Linked DNA regions of Homo sapiens: region 2 is linked to region 1. The links are contacts of gene promoters, found by promoter capture Hi-C in human tissues and cell types (Jung and others, 2019). All regions are on one chromosome and are shown on one strand. Each heading gives the region's core, a stretch centred on a gene start or on the middle of the fragment in contact. The rest is flanking DNA. Distances are from core to core; before and after follow the strand shown.

Region 1 (2,855 bases), core at 273-2,772:
CAAAACCAAAGGTACTCAACCTCAACAGTACCCAGAGATTCAAGATAAAACCACAATGAAATACCTAAAATACACACATCCAAATATACAAAAGTTAAAAATCCAAACACAAATGTTGCTGATGATGTGGAAAAATAAGAACTCTTATACATAAGCACCAGAAACATAAATAGGTACACTACTTTGGAAAATGGTGTGGTCTTACTTTTTAAAGACCCACATGTGCAAAACCCTAATACCCAGCTAACCCACTCCTACGCTAGTACATGTGCATTAATAGACACAGACTTGTACTACAATGTTCACAACATTGTTAATAATAGCTAAAAATGAAAACAGTGTAAGTGATCATTGATAGTAGGAAGGATAAATCAATCTATATTGGAATACTGTCCAGCAATGGAAAAAACTTCAGCTACACAGCATCACCGGTGGCATAATATTAAGTGGGAGAAGCAAATCACAGAAGAATACATACAGTATTAATACCATTTATATACTATCAATACCGGAAAACATTAAACAATATCTTGTTTAGAAATGCATACATGAATGGCAAAAGGAAGAGAATTATTGTACAAAAGTCAGGGTAGTGGTTACTCCAGGGCGAGAAAGGCAATGTAATCGTTGGGGGCATTTTTCAGGTGCTGGTAATGTTTTATTTCTTAACCGGGTGCTAGTTGTACAGGTACTGTTCACATTATTATTAAGATAAACGTGTTTTATACACTTCTGCATGTATAATGTATTTTGCAATACAAATGATTTTTAACATGATTGGATTGGGCAATCTCTTAGGTTCTTTTTATCTTTGATGGTCTATTGTCAGGCCCTTCACAGCTGGACTTATTGTTGGCACCTCATTGACAGTTCCACTTAAGCAATATGCATTAAGACGCATACATGGGTGAATTAGACAGGAAAATTTGAAGGGAAAAGGGAACGCGCTAACAAAGGGAATCACAGAATAGGAGACTAGGAGTATGGACCATCTGATGCAAGCCCCTCTCCTCAGGGAGGCAACTGGGGTTTAACTTGAGAGCTCCTGGGTTCCAGTCCTGGTTCCGACTTTGATTTGGGCAAGTCTCTTCCCTAATTCCCAGTATCCTTATGCTGGCTTTGTAAACCGTGCCGTGAAATTTAAATAGGAGGACTAACAATAATTATTATTCTTTTACAATTGGGAAAACTGAGGCCACAGTGGGTCGCCACTAGCCCAAGGTGCCATCACCACGTTGTAACTCAGGGGTTCCCTCCGACGGCCTTACAGGAACTCCAACTCCCTGAACAGAGCACCGTCCCATTATACAAACAGCAGCTCCCTTTCGTCCGGCTTTGGGCGCAGTTTGACGTCACAGAAGAGCTGCCTTGCCTCACCCCGCCCCTTCGGAAGCCCCGCCCCCTGCCCGACTCCGCCTCGCTCGGCGTTCGTCAAGCTCCGCCTCCAGCGCTCGTCCCAGCGCGGGTAGCCCTGGAGTGCCCCGCGCGGCCTCTCTTCCGGCCCCGCCCCTCCTGGCTGCCATGACAACGAGTCTGCGCCCCGCGCTCAGCTGCTTCTCCGGCGGAACCCAGGCTGGACCGCGGGCCCCGGCCTGGGGGCCACTGCTGCCACCGCCGCCGCCACCTCGTCTCCTCCCCGTCCCCGCCCAGCCCCAGGTCTCCCCGCCTCACTCGGGCCCGTGGCCGGGGTCACTCCCCGCCGCCCCTCCCCGCACGGATGCCGAAGGTGAAGGCGCTGCAGTGCGCCCTGGCGCTGGAGATCAGCTCAGTGAGTACCGGTAGCGCCTCCCACCCCCGGGCATTGGCTCAGGGACTCCCTCAGTCACCTCCGAGAGCCCGGAACCACCCCCAAACCTCCTTCACCCTCCGAATCATCCCTAGGGAGCGTCGACCTCACGCCCCTTCGGTCCTGCCCCATCTTGTTCTCAGAAGCGCTCTCCCACTCCGGCCACGCAGAGGCCTGACCCCTGCTCCGCTATGCTGGCTTCAACCCGACTTCCAACTTGCGCGCTTTCAGATCGTTCCCAAATCACTTCAGAGTTCTTTCCTCGCTCCTAACTTTCCAGTGAGAGAGAGTGTATGTGCGCGGCGCGGGGGCTTTTCATTCCTCTTTCGGGCTCCAGTTCTCTTAGAGAATTATTGCCCCCGCCTTTCCCAAGTCTGGGGGTGGGCGTCGCATTTCCTCCCGAATCCCTGCAGGCACACCATTTCAGACCAGTTTCAAACCCGCATTAATGAAGGGGCCTTTCTTTATTCTGTCTTCGAAGGAGAATCTTCACATCCAACAACTGAAATGTGTCATTGCGCAAAGTACCTTGCCTTCCCTCCCAGGGCCTTACAGGAAAAACCCAACTCCTCAGAAATCACTTCAGGCCCCTCCCGTCCCCAGACCCTTCCGACTTTGTGCCAGCCATTGCAAGAAAGGCCCAGTCATTTTTATGAGGGAAACACCTCCTTCTCCAACCTTGCAACCCCACCCCTTCACTCTCCAGACTTGCTCAAGAGGATGCTTTCCTCCATCCTCCTGTGGAAGTCCAGCTGGGGCAGAGAACCCCACTCATCCAGTGAAGGGGCTGGACCTCTCCATGCTAGGAGAAAACTCTATTCCCCTTGTTGATCTCAGAAGACTTCCAAGGGTTTTGAACTTCTTCCCCTGCATTCTTTAGAGAACCCTCTCATTCCCCTGTTTAGAGGAATACTCCCGCTTGTCTGTTCTGGAGGAAATCTCCACAAGACCCTTTCCACACCCCGTTTTAGTCCTGCAGGCACAGACCTGTACGGAGTTTGGAACCAAAATTCACCATTCGGTCTCTTCGCTCCTTCTTACTCAGTAAGTCTTCTTATGTATATTGCCT
Region 2 (2,855 bases), core at 356-2,855, 170 kb after region 1:
TGTGTGTGTGTGTGGTTCCAAATAAATTTTAGGATTTTTTTATTATTATTGCTGTGTAGAATGTCATTAGTGTTTTGATAGAGATTGCATTGACTAGATTGCTTTGGGTAGTATAGGCATTTTAACAATATTGATTCTTTCAATCCATGAACATGGAATATCTTTCCATTTTCTTGTGTTCTCCAGTTTCTTTCATCAGTGTTTTATAGTTTTTGTCATAGCAGTCTTTCACTTTTCTGGCTTTTTTTTTTCTTTTAGTATTGGAAATGGGATTGCTTTCTTGATCTCTGTTGCAGATTGTTTACTGTTGGAATATAGAAATGTTGATTATTGCATGTTAATTTTTTATTTTGCAACCTTACTAAATGTGTTTATTCATTTTAATTTTTTGGTGGAGTCTTTATGTTTTTCTAAATAAAACATCATGTTTTCTATGGAAGGGAATAATTTAACTTCTTTTTCAGTTTGGATCCCCTTTATTTCTTTCATTTGCCTAATTGCTCTGGCTAGGACTTCCATTACTATGTTGAATATAAGTGGCGAAAGTGGGCATCTTTGTCCTGTTTCAGATCTTTTTCCCATTCAGTATAATATTAGCTGTGAGTTTGTTGTATATGGCCCTTATCATTTTGAGGTATGTTCCTTCCATGCCCAGTTTATGGAGGGGTTTTATTATGAGTGGATGTTGAATTGTATTGAATGCTTTTTCAGCACCCATTGAAATGATTATACTTTTTTTTTGTTTTAATTCTGTTGATATTATGTATCACATTTATTGATTTGCCCATGATGAACCATCCTTGCATCCCTGGAATGAATACCATTTGATCATGGTGAATGATCTTTTTCATGTGTTTTTGAATTCAATTTTCTAATATTCTGTTGAGGATTTTTGCATCTGTTCATCAGGAATATTAGCCTGTAGTTTATTTTTGTTGTTGTTTTTGTCTGGTTTTGGTACCAGGGTAATGCTAGTCTTATAAAATGGGTTTTCTCATATCTTTAATTTTTTGTAATATTTTGAGTAGACTTCTTATTAGTTCTTCTTTAAATATTTGGTAAAATTCAGCAGTGAAGCCAGAGATCCAGGGCTTTTCTTTTATAGGAGACTTTTTATTACTGTTTCAATATTGTTATTCATTATTGGTCTGTTCAGGTTTTGTATTTGTTCATAGTATAATCTTGGTTTGTAGGTTGTGTGTATCTGGGAAGAAACTTTACAATCTCTAACAGGCCTGGAAGGTCTAATCTATAAAAGTATTTCATTGACCTTGAAGAAGGTCAATTATTTATATAAGAAAATAAACTCAACATTTTATCCATAAAAAATGTAATTCCGGAATTTATGTTAGTAAAATTATAACACTGATAACATAAAAAGTGCTATTAATCCTTAAGAAAGAGTTACCTTTTCTTTTCTATCTTCATCACAGCTAGCCCAGTCTTAGTCTATTTCATTAGCTTCCTATGGGCTTCCTCTCACTTACATGCGTGCTCTCTTGCATGCGCTCGCTCTCTCTCTCTCTCCCACCTTCTTTTTTCCTTAAGACCCTCAAAACTACAGTTGATCCTTTCACTTCAAACTCTTCTGCCTTGTTTCCATTTTCCACAAATGTTCACAGTTAGCCTAATTTTCTACTCCTTGAGGGCAATAGCAGCATGGCATAGTAGAAAGGGTCTTAGAGCACACACGTTGTCTTTTTCATTTTGCCACTTACTAGCTGAGCAGTCTTAGGCAAGTCACTTAACTTCACTGAGTCTTCATTTCTATATCTACCAACTTCTATGTGTTGTAAAATGTATTCATAAATAGATATAAAGTACCTGGTTTAGTGTCTCATATTTAATAACGTCTGTGTTTAAATTTTAAAACAATCCTGTAAAACTAAAGTTAAGGAAGTTGAGACTCTGGATAGTTAAATAAATTGCCCAAGGTCTCACAGCTTATAAAGGACTGAGCTGGAATTCAGTTTCAGGTATGCCTGACTTTTAGCAACTATGCATTCTTTTTTTTTTTTTTTTTTTTTCCGAGACGGAGTTTTGCTCTTGTTGTCCAGGCTGGGGTGCAATGGCGTGATCTCAGCTCACTGCAACCTCTGCCTCCCGGTTTCAAGTGATTCTTCTTCCTCAGCCTCCCGAGTAGCTGGGATTATAGGCAAGCGCCACCATCCTCAGCTAATTTTGTATTTTTTAGTAGATATGGGGTTTCTCCATGTTGGTCTGGCTAGTCTCGAACTCCCGACCTCAGGTGATTTGCTCGTCTCAGCCTCCCAAAGTGCTGGGATTATAGGCGTGAGCCACTGTGCCTTGGGCTGTGCATTCTTATACTGGCCATACCAGGCCAGTATAAGAACTGCTTTTATTATGTTCTGCTTTTATTATGCTGTACCTGTGTCTGTTCTCTGAATTCCTTTTTCACTCTAACACAAAATTTTCATTTTACTGTTTTATAACAGTTTTACACAGATACTTCTGCCTCCCCTTTTAAAATGTCCCTCTTTGAAAGCACAGGCCTTACTCTGTTTTATTTTTCACAGCCCCAGCAGAGAATTAAATAGCCATAGAGTACTCAATAAATATTTGATTTACATAGTACTATCTCTAATTTTGTTTCATTATTGTTTTGAACCTTTTATATCCCTTTTTATAGCTCATGTCAGCAGCCACGTGGCACTTTCCATTTGGATGACGGTGAATACTGGTCCAACAGGGCAGCCTCTTATAAGGGAAAATCCCACCGACCCATCTTTGAGAACAGCATGGACAAGATGTACAGGAACTTATACAAAAAGGCCTGTAGTTCTGCTTCACATACACAGGAAAGCTTCTGAGACCATCCATGATAAACCTCATTA

What was found. The method cuts DNA at HindIII sites, captures the fragments that hold promoters and counts their contacts. A contact is called where the count stands out against the background at its distance.
Region 2: a contact is called between a fragment that was not itself captured here and the fragment with the promoter of SPATA6 in region 1, in 1 of the 25 tissues and cell types used here (IMR-90 fibroblasts).

What each region holds. Positions count from the first base shown.
Region 1 is chr1:48,470,871-48,473,725 of GRCh38, reverse strand. It overlaps SPATA6 (spermatogenesis associated 6), which reads left to right and starts at 1,522. Exons shown (of 13, transcript NM_019073.4): 1 at 1,522-1,768. The coding sequence starts at 1,718. It overlaps LOC124904175 (a long non-coding RNA gene), which reads right to left. Exons shown (of 2, transcript XR_007066074.1): 1 at 2,774-2,855. RefSeq lists an enhancer at 1,191-1,240 and a silencer at 1,451-1,840. The HindIII fragment of the contact is 25,705 bases long and covers 1-2,855 here.
Region 2 is chr1:48,298,689-48,301,543 of GRCh38, reverse strand. SPATA6 (spermatogenesis associated 6) reads left to right here. Exons shown (of 13, transcript NM_019073.4): 13 at 2,651-2,855. The coding sequence ends at 2,831. Among named protein-coding and RNA genes, the nearest start is that of SLC5A9, 77 kb to the right of the region's middle. The HindIII fragment of the contact is 3,207 bases long and covers 2-2,855 here.